Linked DNA regions of Homo sapiens: region 2 is linked to region 1. Evidence: promoter capture Hi-C in 16 types of primary human blood cells and fetal thymus (Javierre and others, 2016). All regions are on one chromosome and are shown on one strand. Each heading gives the region's core, a stretch centred on a gene start or on the middle of the fragment in contact. The rest is flanking DNA. Distances are from core to core; before and after follow the strand shown.

What was found. The method cuts DNA at HindIII sites, captures the fragments that hold promoters and counts their contacts. A CHiCAGO score of 5 or more calls a contact.
Region 2: a fragment that was not itself captured here is called in contact with the fragment with the promoter of CHRNA1 in region 1 in 1 of 17 cell types (M2 macrophages); the score reaches 5.0 in M2 macrophages.

What each region holds. Positions count from the first base shown.
Region 1 is chr2:174,762,168-174,768,393 of GRCh38, reverse strand. It overlaps CHRNA1 (cholinergic receptor nicotinic alpha 1 subunit), which reads left to right and starts at 3,922. Exons shown (of 9, transcript NM_000079.4): 1 at 3,922-4,042. The coding sequence starts at 4,000. RefSeq lists an enhancer at 3,422-3,921 and a silencer at 6,219-6,226. The HindIII fragment of the contact is 3,214 bases long and covers 1,719-4,932 here.
Region 2 is chr2:175,281,340-175,287,565 of GRCh38, reverse strand. No RefSeq gene overlaps it. Among named protein-coding and RNA genes, the nearest start is that of ATP5MC3, 100 kb to the right of the region's middle. The HindIII fragment of the contact is 1,039 bases long and covers 3,268-4,306 here.

The DNA.
Region 1 (6,226 bases), core at 2,673-5,172:
ATCTTATTTATATAACATATAAGAAAAAATATATAAAAATATATATTTTATATAAATAAAAAATATACATCTTTTTACAATTTATATATTATATATGTTTACATGTATAATTTATTGTATATGTTTACATATATAATTTATTGTATATGTTTACATATATAATTTATTGTATATGTTTGTATATTATATATAATATATAATGTTTATATATTATGTATGTTTATATATAATATATGTATTTCATATATAAATATATAAATATATTTATATATACATTTATATATATTTTATTTATAATATATGTATATGTATATATAATATATGTTTATATATAATATATGTAAACATATAATACATGTAAACATATATGTAAACATATACAGTCAAACATATATGTATATATATAATATATAACCATATATTATATAACATATGATATAAAAATAAATTGTTAAAAGGATATATATCTTATTTATGTAATATATAACATATGTAATATATATAAAAATAAATTGTAAAAAATATATATTTTTTTAATCATCCATCTCCTCCAATTAGAATGCATTTTTCCTGAGAACCAGGAATCTTTGTCTGCTGTGTTTATTGATGTATTCCAAATGCCTAGAACACTGCTTGGCACATAGCAAAACCCAGTGAAAAAATTTTTAGTGAATGAATGAATGGAATGCATGGAAACAGGGTCTGAACAGACACAAACTAAAACATCAAAATAAATATTCTGGGTAGAAGGATAGCAGGTCTTTTCATTCATCTGTTCTCTAATTTCTCTAAAATAAATTCAAATTACTTGAATAATAAACTTTTAAATGAAAAAAACAGTTTACTCCTGAGGATAATATTAATAGTAGTTTTAGTAATTTTTTTTAGTCTATGGTTTCAACTGTTCACCTTTAGAAGAGATTTTTTTGTTTAAATTGTGGGAGATCACAGTTTGTTTAAACTGTGGCAATAAAGGGGGAAAGCCTCCAATGATATCACTGTGAAGACCCCATGCCAGGCAGTGGGAGAAATTCTGTCTTGAGTTGAGGTCCCCCTGACCCTGTATTGAGTTGACTTGAGAGGTGGCAGATTGGGGAGAAGAGACAGAGAAGGAGAGGAAGCCAATAAAGGGAGGGTTATTGAGCCATTTCCATCATGGGCAACAGGAACTCACTCCCACAGACATAGAGTGTAGGGCACGCTTGGGGGTTACCCAGTCCAAGGGGAGATGGGGCGGGGATATTTATCCTCCAACATTGGTTGAGGCCTGTTTCTGGAGGCAGTAACACTTTAGCATCTCAGGCTTGTTTCATGTGTTCCCATGGCCAAAAAAAAAGAAAAAAAAATCCCTCGGTTACAGGGTTGCAGGCATTGGCAGTAAGCAGAAAGCCAGGGTAGGCACAGAGAAGGTCTCAACAGATTCCTCGATTCGACCCGATTCTGCTCTGTGGGTGGAACTCCCTTGTCCGTTGCTGTTTGAGGTTCCTGGCTATGCCCCGGGGAGGTTCTTCCTTGCCCACTTTCCCTCACGGCCACAATTGAAGGAGGGGATGGAGAAAGCACCCTTTTTGGAAGACTGTGCAGATCTTGGAGCCTGCTTTCTGGCCGTGTGTGTTTGGGAACTCAAGGACTGCTTTAAGCCTTGAACAACCAAAACTTTTGTAGCCTGGGTTAATGAACTCTTTGGCAATATAATTCCTTCAAATACTGAGTAAGCTTCTGCAATATTTGTTTCCATCATTCCCATGTGCCTATATACACACATGGTCACAATTCTTTAATCTGATTAATTTCTTTGCATCCTAACCACTATACCTCTCTCCTTCAACTTAATAGCAGCCATCTTGAAGCCATCTGAAAAAAAAAATAGATTTGGCTGTGAAGAAAGCACCCTTAAAGTGATCTTTGCTGTGGTGATGAAACTGCCTGTTTAAAGAGAAGTCTTAACGGGCTTTGGTTGCTCAAAGCCTTTATTCCATGTTTTCACTTACTCTTTTGAAGTTCAAAACAGAAGACTCCACATTTCTGGACTCATTCTATTTCTTTTCATTTCTGCTCTTGAACCAGCACATTTTTGCCTGAGCTCAGCTCTTCCTTGTACTGACTTGCTAAACAAAGCCAGAAAGAGCCATGGTGCACTAACTTTGGGTTTACCAGCCTCTATTCTGGGAGCTACAGGCTCAGTAGACACATTGTTCACCAAGTAATTGAGGACAACAGTTTATGAAATGATTTGATACCATATAACATGGGTCTTCATATTTTCAGCCTCCAGTATCAATTTTCTTGCCTTCTGCTGCAGTGCTACATATTTTAGAATTTATTTTTAACCTCAGGATACTAGTGCAAAGGATTACATATTTTATTAATTACGGAACACTAGCTGCTGTACAAATAAACCCAAGGATTTTGATGGCTCAGCACGATGCATGTTTTGTTTTCATTGAAATAGTGCTGGGTGGTGAGCAGGTGGATAGGGGGTCCCCCTCCATGCAGTCATTCAAGGATTCAGAATGTCAAAAGCAACACCACCTTCAGAACATGGTTTCTAAGGTTAACTTTGGGACCATGTCCATTCTAGCCGGTCAGAAGACTAGAAGGGCGGGGCTGAGCTCTGGTAGGTTTGTGAGTCTGAGAACATTTTTCCACTCATGCCACTGGCCAGAGGTCAGTCCCATGGCTCCATTTAGATGGAAGGGGCTGGTCAGAGGGTGGGGGTTGTATTTCTGCCACGGGGCTATTCCATGGAAGGGAGAGAACCAAATTTTTTTTTAGCAAACAGTTAACTGATCTCCCACAGTTTAAACAAAAAATATAAATAGTATGAGCTTGCAGCTCTCTCCTCTACCCTCCAAGCCCCTTCTCTAATGATTTGTTTGGATCCACTGGAATGAGAGGATCTGTCAGGATGTTGTTGTGGGCTTGAGGTGAGAGGACCTTTCTCACCTAGTTCCATGTGGGAAGGAGGCCTGGAAGGAACAGGCAGGGTACCTTTAAGTAACTGTCTCCTTCTGGGAACTCACCTCACACCCTGCAAAGAAGCACAGCTAGGGTAACAATACTTCTCAGACTGAGAAATTACTAACTGCTGGTTTTTAGGATGTTTTTCAAGCAAGATAATTGAAAAGCTGAACCACTCTGCTCTTTGCTTCCCTGAGTGAGAGTAGGCAGAGGGACGGATGGAAGGAGGCAGGAACCCGGAACGACTGCTGATGCGGTGGGACACTTTTTCCCAATAATTACTCTTCGCTTGAATCACAGTGCATAGGACGTGGGCAATTTGCTCCAGCTAATGGTTCGTGTGGGATAGGTATTGCCTGATACAGAGGCAGGGGTTGGAACAGCCACTCTGGGGGCCAGTAAAGCCAGTTTTATGGAAGAAGCTGTCTTTGTTAAAAACCAAACCCAATCAACGTGGGGGCTTCCCAGCAGCAGACTCAACACCAGCTACACTTTTCTGAAATCCAGGCAGTCAGAAAAGCCCCCGGCACCCTCAGCCTAACACTGAAGCAGAGGAAATGAAACTGAAGCCATGTTTGCAGAATGTGGATTTTTGTGGTTTAGGACAAACAGCTGACTATCTACTCAGACCAAATGACCCTAATCAAGTCAACCCACAGAGATGAGGTTCTGGTTTACACAAAAGAGAGGCAGTTTGCTCACCATTTAAAATAATTCCTTCCTTCCTATACATTTTTTTTTCATTAAGATCTGACTACTGGTGCATTTAAAATATAATGCAGTTCATACTCAGCTTGTCAAGGGTAAGCAATTGTGTAAAGTGAGGCATATCTGTAATGGTGTACAGTCCCAGTAACTCCCTGGGCTCCAGGGCTGAGGGCAGCCCAGCTGTCGCTCCCACAAACAGGTGGTGTAAAACAATAGCTCTAGTGAGCCGACTCGCTTTCCAAACCCTCCAGCAGACAAGCACCCAGCCAGAGTGCCAGTGAGAAGCACAGGCCACCACTCTGCCCTGGTCCACACAAGCTCCGGTAGCCCATGGAGCCCTGGCCTCTCCTCCTGCTCTTTAGCCTTTGCTCAGGTAAGTGCTGGGGTCAGGGGTGGGGAGAGGGCTCTCCTTTGAGGCTAAAGTGCTGGAGGCCCCCAAATCAAAGTCTTGCTTCTTTGATGAGACCACAGAATGGCAGAGCCTCCCCAACCAGGGGCTGCTCTGTCAGTTTCTTCCTGATGTTAGCTTGATTGAGTTTTTGGATAAAGATTTTTAGTTTGCCTTATCTAATTAAAATAGAAACTGCCTGGTCAAAGACTTCAAGATAGACACGCATGTCTCTCCCTCCATCATGCCTGGCAGCCGACTCATCCCTCTGAACACTCGGCACCATTTGTAGGACCTGGACCACTTGTGGATCATGGTAGTGTCCGGGGGTTCATATTTAAACAACTATGGATACTTAGAACAGTGCCTTATAATCACATACAATGGAGTTAACAAGTCCCTTTACTGCTCCAGGAGAATTCTAATAATAAAGAGGACTGATTGACAGCTACATGTGCTGGAGATAGAAACCAGTTAATAATCATAACTAAACTCTCTCCACAGAGACAAATATTTTTTAATTTTTTCAAAATTTCTGAAGTTAAAAAAAATTCCATATGAATACATTCCTACCTACTTTTTTTTTTTAAGATGTTACTATATATAGGTTTGGGTTTGAATTGAAACTATAAAACCTTGCACAGCATTTGACCTGCATTCTACTCTGGAATGTGTCCTAACACAGCAGCTGAAACACCATCCTGAATCCCAGACTTCCGCTAGAGGGAAACAGGAGATGTTTGCTGATTGCTTCACATAAAAGTTTACTGGTGATATCATCCCAACTGAGAAACAAGGTGGCTGACATCCTGTGATTTTTCATTTCCAATATTGCTCTGAAAAACACAGGCCTTCTGGTCAAGAGGCAAAAAGCTTTATTATTAATTTTTTTCAATATCAGAGTTGAGTGAAAGAGCCTAAACTCAGATAAATTATATCATGTGGGATTTGGACTCTGTCCAGCCAAAGCTGGCCTGATGTGTGTGTGTGTGTGTGTGTGTGTGTGCGCGCGCGTGCACACACATGCGTGCACGCAAAACCACAGTCACAGGAAAATTCTTAAATGATATGCTTTAATGTAAACATCCTTAAGAGATCTCTTAGGATTTTGGTTATTGCTAACCAAAAATGCATGATTAGCTATTAAAGAAGTATGTGATATGTATTTAGGTCAAATCTCGAGTTTGCTGGCATTGATTTCCATGGGTGTTTTATAGAAATTTAGAGCTAGATCAGGCAGTCCAACATCCTCAATTTTTTATTACAAGGAAACTAAAGCTGACCTGCCCAAGGTCACTTAATTTATACATTTTGGAATGTGGTCAGTTGGAGACTTGGTTTATTACATGCACAGTCAGAAAACACAGCCTGAACTAGCCAAAGGTAGCAAGAGATACAGAATCAGGTTAAGATAATAATGATCCATGGGACTAGTAACAGTTCAAAATTTCTTTTGCCCAGCCCAGGGAGCTATTTCCTACATACAAATACAAATGGAACCAGTGTGGTACAAAAGGAACACTTTGAAACTGTGGTTGAGTTTCCCTTCTTAGAATCAGTCCTTTGTAGACAAAATTGTCATTTATATCAGGGACTCTTTTCCTGTGTTAGCTTAACACAGCGTGATCTCTGTTCTATTTATACAGCACTTTTCATTTCAACTTTTTCTTTTCTTTGCCTCTGGAATCTCAAGCACTTCATTGCCGTCTTTCTTACGGCATATCACTTTCCAACTTGTTCACAGTTATTTACGTAAATGACAAATGTCAATCTCCATGAGGGTAGGAAGAAGGATTCAGTTTTGAATATCTCGAAGCTCCCAAAACAATGCTTTGCTTACAGTAAATGCTCAACAAATATTTCATGAATAAATTAATGTTACCATCATCTGAATAAAGATTACAAATATAATCTTGCTAAAAAGGGGAATTTGACATTATTTAATTTTTTATTTGCATATTTGTTTATTTACACCCTACCTTTTTACAAAAGTATTTACTGTGATTCGTTGAATCCATGAAGAACTAATCCAACTCTCCAGGCCATATGGGAGTTGGGAAGAGAATCATAGAGTTCTGACTTTGAGCCCTGTGAGTTTTCTATCACTCTACCCTGTGCTGGGGAGGAAAAAAGAAAAGAATACCAGTGAACCAATCTAAGAAATGAAGC
Region 2 (6,226 bases), core at 2,538-5,037, 520 kb before region 1:
GTCCTGGCCAACATGGTAATACCCCATCTCTATTAAAAATATAAAAATTAGCTGGGTGTGGTGGTGCATGCCTGTAATCCCAGCTACTCGGGAGGCTGAGGCAGGAGAATTGCTTGAACCCAGGAGGCAGAGATTGCAGTGAGCTGAGATCGTGCCACTGCACTCCAGCCTGGTGACAGAGTGAGACTCCATCACAAAAAATAAATAAATAAATAAAAAGTTTTAGAATATCCTCCTTCGTATCAATAAAGTGATTACAAAATGATGAGTATTGGAGTATTGAGACTGTAAGAATTTTTTTTTAAAAGACAGAATTACAGTTTAGTTGAAAAGTTAACATGTAAAGTAAGAATGTGATAGAGAAAATGAAATTATTTATATTAAAACAAAGTTTAGAAATAAGTTAGAATTCCTTTAAAAAGAAACATTTTTCCAGCTCTACCACTAAAGATGTCCCGAGAGAAGCCGCAGCATCTTTGCTCAACTCTCAAGTTTTGAGGCAGGGAAAAATCAGAACAGACTTGGAGCATCCCAGAGTACTCAGACTTTAGTCTCCGATACTGTTCTTTATTAGAAAGAATCAGAACTACTTGGAGGATAGATGGTTCCATGTTTTGAGGCAGGGAAAAATCAGAACAGGCTTGGAACATCCCGATGCTGCCAGTCAGTAATTCTGGATGTTCTCAAGGACATCTGATGTCCTGCTGAAAGGATAAAGGAAGACCATCCACTGAGAGGACAGTCTGGGACAAGGGCTGAGGGACAAAGCAAGAGGCCAAGCCTAAGGGGGCTCTCAGACTCTTACAGAGGACTCTTCAGGTGAAGGCACCTTTCAGCCCTCAGAAGAACTCATCAAAGCACCCCCTAACAGCCACACAAGAGACCAGCATTTGGACGGTTGATCCATCACAGAGAAGGAGCAACAGTGATAAGAAAGGGGTCAAATGTGGGATGTGCTTCGATGGAAACAGCAAGTACAACTGACAAGACACCTTGAGCGCCAGAGTTACAAGGACATGATTTTGTTCTTTTGTTCCTCCTTGCCCCTACACCAGAGGAATAAGAGCAAGAAAGAGACAAAGTGGTATGTGACAGAGCTAACCGTGCAACACACACACACACACACAGAGTCACTCCAAGCTGTTTGAGTCCCAAGGCCAGTCTGTATGGATGGAAGAGGAATGTTTTACATCAAATGAGATGTTAAAATTTTTAAGTAAAAAGGACTAAGTTTTAATAACAAAAATGAGACCACTTTACTAATTATAATAAAGGTGACTGAAAAGGTTGAGAATCAGAGGGAGCCATTATCAAGGCAGCTCCTATGCAGGAAATAGCAAGAGCCCATGACAGCAGTGGTTGCAGTACAGAGCTCTGTGATGGCAGTTTATAGCTGAATGAGTTGAAATTCCTCAATCACACCACATAAATAAGATGTGTGATTCAAACACTAAGAAAGATAGTAGAGAGACTACCCTCTACACACACACATACAAGAAAAAAAACCTTTGAGCCACACATAGAATACAACCTTTTAAAATATAGCCACTTTTAGGCAGGTTTTCTCTAATATGGCTATTCGCGTCCTGTACTATTAGAGGTTGGCTGTTTATTGTGGCAACTGCAACTTACTTTTAAAATATATCATAGTATCTTCATCTTTACTTAAGATTGTAAGCAGAAATTGAAGTGTAGACATATATTTAGCTTGTAGAATCTATTCTTAAAACTTCCAGCCATTTTCCTATATATGTGTGTCAATATATTTCAACCTCCTACTCCCAACTCTGAAATTGTTAGGGCTAATAAATTACCTTAGGATGTTGTCTTAGACATGTTCGTTTCTACCCAGTGTTATGCTGGGCCACTTTTCTTTTATGAAAACATGATCTACAGTTCAATAACACACTTAGTCCAAGCTATTCGAGTCCCAAGGCTAGTCTGTATGGAGGGAAGCGGAACGTTTTAGATGAAATGGGATATTAAAGTTTTTAAATAAAAAGGACTAAGCTTTTTTTATTTAAAAAACTCCTTCACATGTGCTCCTTAACAATAGAAGAATATGGATCATAGCATTCTAGCTCTGTTTTTAAAACAACATAATACATAACCATGTAATATTACAAATAACACAATTTTTCATGTGTCACTTCCTTCCAAGACAGTTTGAGCTTTGATAAATTTTAATTGATATAAGTTAATCTCATATAATTAATGTAGATTTGCTGTAAGAATTAAATGCATAATTAGAATTTCTCTACTAAATGCAGATTCATTTGCAAACTCTTTTGAAATATATTTGGAAATGCATACTGGCAGCAGGATAGATTTTTGAACCTTAGAAATATAAATGCATTCTTTAATTACAATAAATTACCATGATTTTATATAGTCAATATGTAATTAATAAATACACTTAAGTTACTTTATTTAGGAAAAGTTTAATGCCTTGAGAGAAAAGGAGATAAGTCATTGGGCTGTGAGTTAGCAAGAAAACCTGAAAAAGAATGAAACCTCCTGAACCATGTGGCTCCCTCTTCTTTTAACAGAATTTCTAGCAATGAAGTGCTTGGAGACTCTAGTTTGAGTTCTAAGTCCCGCATTTCCAACATGTGAACCTGAGCGAGCCACGTATCTACCCCAAGCCTCAGTTTCCTCATTAGTCAAGTAGCCTATTTCATGATAATCCTGTCAAGATCAATAGAGATCTGTAGGGCAGAATTATAAGCAAGTATTATCATCACAATTATTGTATGTAATACACTTCTACTCATTTTGTAGCTACCAGTTGCTGTATCAAGGTATAGTTAAATTTGGATAGTGATAGCCACCATTTATTAAACACTATGCATCAGATATTGTGCTAAATGTTCACATATGCCATCTCATTCATTTTTTACAACAACACTAGTATTATCCCCATTCTATAATTGAGGAATCCAAAATTCCATAAAGGAGTAACTTGTCCATGGTCACACAGCTGGTAATTGATGGAGCTGGGATTGAATTGGTATCTAGCTCCAGAGCTGATGCGCTAAACCACCTGGGTAGACTTTCTCCCTACTAACATTGATAAAATTATACAAGCCCTACTCATCACATGCAAACTCCCTATTCATTATTAAGAACAAAATAGCCAGTGAATTCTAAACCTAGGAAGAAAACAATCTATTCAGGTATGATCAATCCCTTTGCTATGCTACCCTCCCTAGCAATGAGTGTAGCGTGTTGGAAGCAGTTACTATCCTACTAGCTAGACTCTAAGCTTCAAGAGGGCAGGTTCTCACTGCCTACTTCATCACAGAGTGCAAGAATACACTGCTTATTTGGTAAATAGTTCATGTTATCACCAAATTCCTTAAAAACATGCACTATTGAAGGAAAATTCTTGTCAGGCTAGTCTTTTGCATTACTGATAGAAGAAGTAAAATTTGGAAGAGGACAGAGACAGAATAGCATCTACTGGGTCACTTGCTGGCCTAGGAGCTTTAGAATAGAGGCATCCCTGCAGCTCCTTAGTCCCAGAGGCCTGCATCTTACATGTGAAGACATCCGGGGTTAGAAATCAATGAAGGGCCTGTACCTCTGGGAGGCAGGGATATGAGCAAGAGAAGGAGGAAGTGGAGAAACCATTTTTCTCCTTCATCCTAAGTGACCGGCACAGCAATAGACCCTGTGTCATTGGGCACACTGGGGAAAAATGTTCATTGTAGAACCCAGATGCCAAAGTGAAGAAGAAACAGAGTGTTTTCAGCAGCTGCATCTGGCTTTTTGGCAAGCTCTCCACACTTTGGTACTGATTATCCCTGCATCTGCTCCTTAATCGTTTCACTAGTTACCTGTGAACTGTTTTACTCACTTTGATCACACATTGCTTGGAACATGGAAAAAGGTGCCACTGTTATGTCTATTTTCAAGCTGCTGTGAACCTTTCCAAAGAAATCAATATCAAAAAACTTTCAGCTGTAGGGATAAAAAGAAAGAAAGAAAGAAAAAGAAATTCTCTATTCTGGACTCCCAGCAGCTAAGCACCCTGATCACGTACACATATAATGATTTCAAAAATTGAGAAAAAACTGTGCCTTATCCTGAAGTTAAGTGCTCCCTTTCTGTAAATGAGAATAGGGTTCAAAGGGTTAATCCAGTGGCCACGCACAGTTAGGTAGGCCCTTCGGAAATTTAATCTACAAGGAGGATTTGTTAAAACTCTCATCTTTAGCAGGGCTTTTCTGCACATCAGAAAAGTGAGATACATTTCATGGCTTTCCCTCTACACATTTTTATGCTACACCTTTCAGCAAAAGCTTTTACAATGATATTAAACATTAACTCTGTATGGGTTAATCCCAAGACACAGCAGCAGCCTTAAGGTTAACAGTCCTTTTAATTAAAAGATAAGTCAGTTATTGAACACAGAAGCTAATCACAAAAGGATTACCACTGAAAATGAACATAGTCTGTGCAATTAGTCTGATAATTAAGACTTAAGTACTGGACAGAGATCAAAGTGCTTGTAATATGCAATAAAGTTCCCAGAGTTGTAAGGATATTCAAAATGTTAGCTTGTGCTTTTATTGCACCTTCCATTTATCGTGTACCCATGATAGCAGCAAACACATTTCCCCGATGGATGTCAGCATGGATAACTGCAACAGCTGTTACTACATAAGCCTGGTGTTTCTCACAATATGATTACTCTGTCAACGATGGCCGTAAAAGGTGGCATCTGCATTCATCAAACAGAGTTATCAATAAATGTAAAACCATACAACAATTAGAAATCTCAAAGGAAGAACAAATCTAACTGGAAAAAAAAATGTCAACCACACTCTTTAATTACTAAAATTGTTAATCAATAAAATGCCTTCATAACTTTTAATTAAAATTTGATTTGAACTGGATGTTTGGATAATCTGATTCTTTGTTTTCATTATCTTTAACAGTTGCATTACAAAATTCTTAGTGGCATCTGTGAGCAGCCATCCCCTGGGGAACACTTTATATCTGTAATTGCATATTGTTACCTACAGAGGGTGTTAAGAATCCTTGTTAAAAATAAAGGAAATAGGAGACATCTCACAGTAGCCATTATTGTGGAACAAATTACTAGGTAGAGCAATCCAGAAGCTGTCAAGAAAGGTTAGCAAAAAGGAGTGTCAGGAAATCAACCATTCAGCAATTCATCATGGGCCAAAACTAGCTCTAAAATAAAACCAAGGAAAAAAGGTATCGGTTTTATGAAGTCAAGACATTGTCTTTGTTTATAGCAGTGAATAAAGATTATAAGAGGTTACTGATGAAGGATAAAAAGATGAAATGATAAAGGAAAAATCAATTGCTTTAATCACACTGATGCTCAGACAAGATATAATGAGAACAACTACTTAGAATTCCAAAAGCTCAATGCTGTATACATTATCTTTAATTTGTGTTCATAAGGGTCTGTGTAATTTATGCATCACCAGCCCCAGGAGTTGACTGGTAAGTTTTCATACCTTCATATCAGTCTCTTCAAGCTGAATACATGTATCACTGTTACTTTTTTTTTTTTAAAGACAGACTCTCACTCTGTTGCCCGGGCTGGAGTGCAATGGTGTCATCTCGGCTCACTGCAATCTCCACCTCCCAGGTTTAAGCGATTCTCCTGCCTCAGCCTCCCGAGTAGCTGGGATTACAGACGCACGCCACCACGCCTGGCTAATTTTTCTTTTTTAGTAGAGAAGGGGTTTTGCCATGTTGGCCAGGCTGGTCTCGAACTCCTGATCTCAGGTGATCCGCCCGCCTCAGTCTCCCAAAGTGCAGGGATTACAGGCGTGAGCCACCATGCCTGACCACTGTTACATTTTTTAATGTCTTTTTGATTTGTAGAAAAACAAAGTTGATCTTGAATTTCTTTCCTGAGTTTTCACTGGGATTTCATTTGACTGTCAACTCCAACCTACATGAATAAACCAGGTTGACTGTTGCTTATTTCACTGCTGAAATAATTAGCAAGCTCTCCTTTCACATTTTTGAATGCTGATACATGTAGAATTTAATACTCAAAGATTCACTCTTAAGGGCTTTTCTTTCCTTAATCTCAGCTTGGTTTCCTGGATTCCCATATGCATAAGAACAATTGAGAACTATAGCCAACCAACCTATCCAGTGTCCTAGCAAAGGCCACTGATGGGGTGCAGAACACACAATCTCAAAATATGGCACCTTGGCATTTGAGAAAACAGTA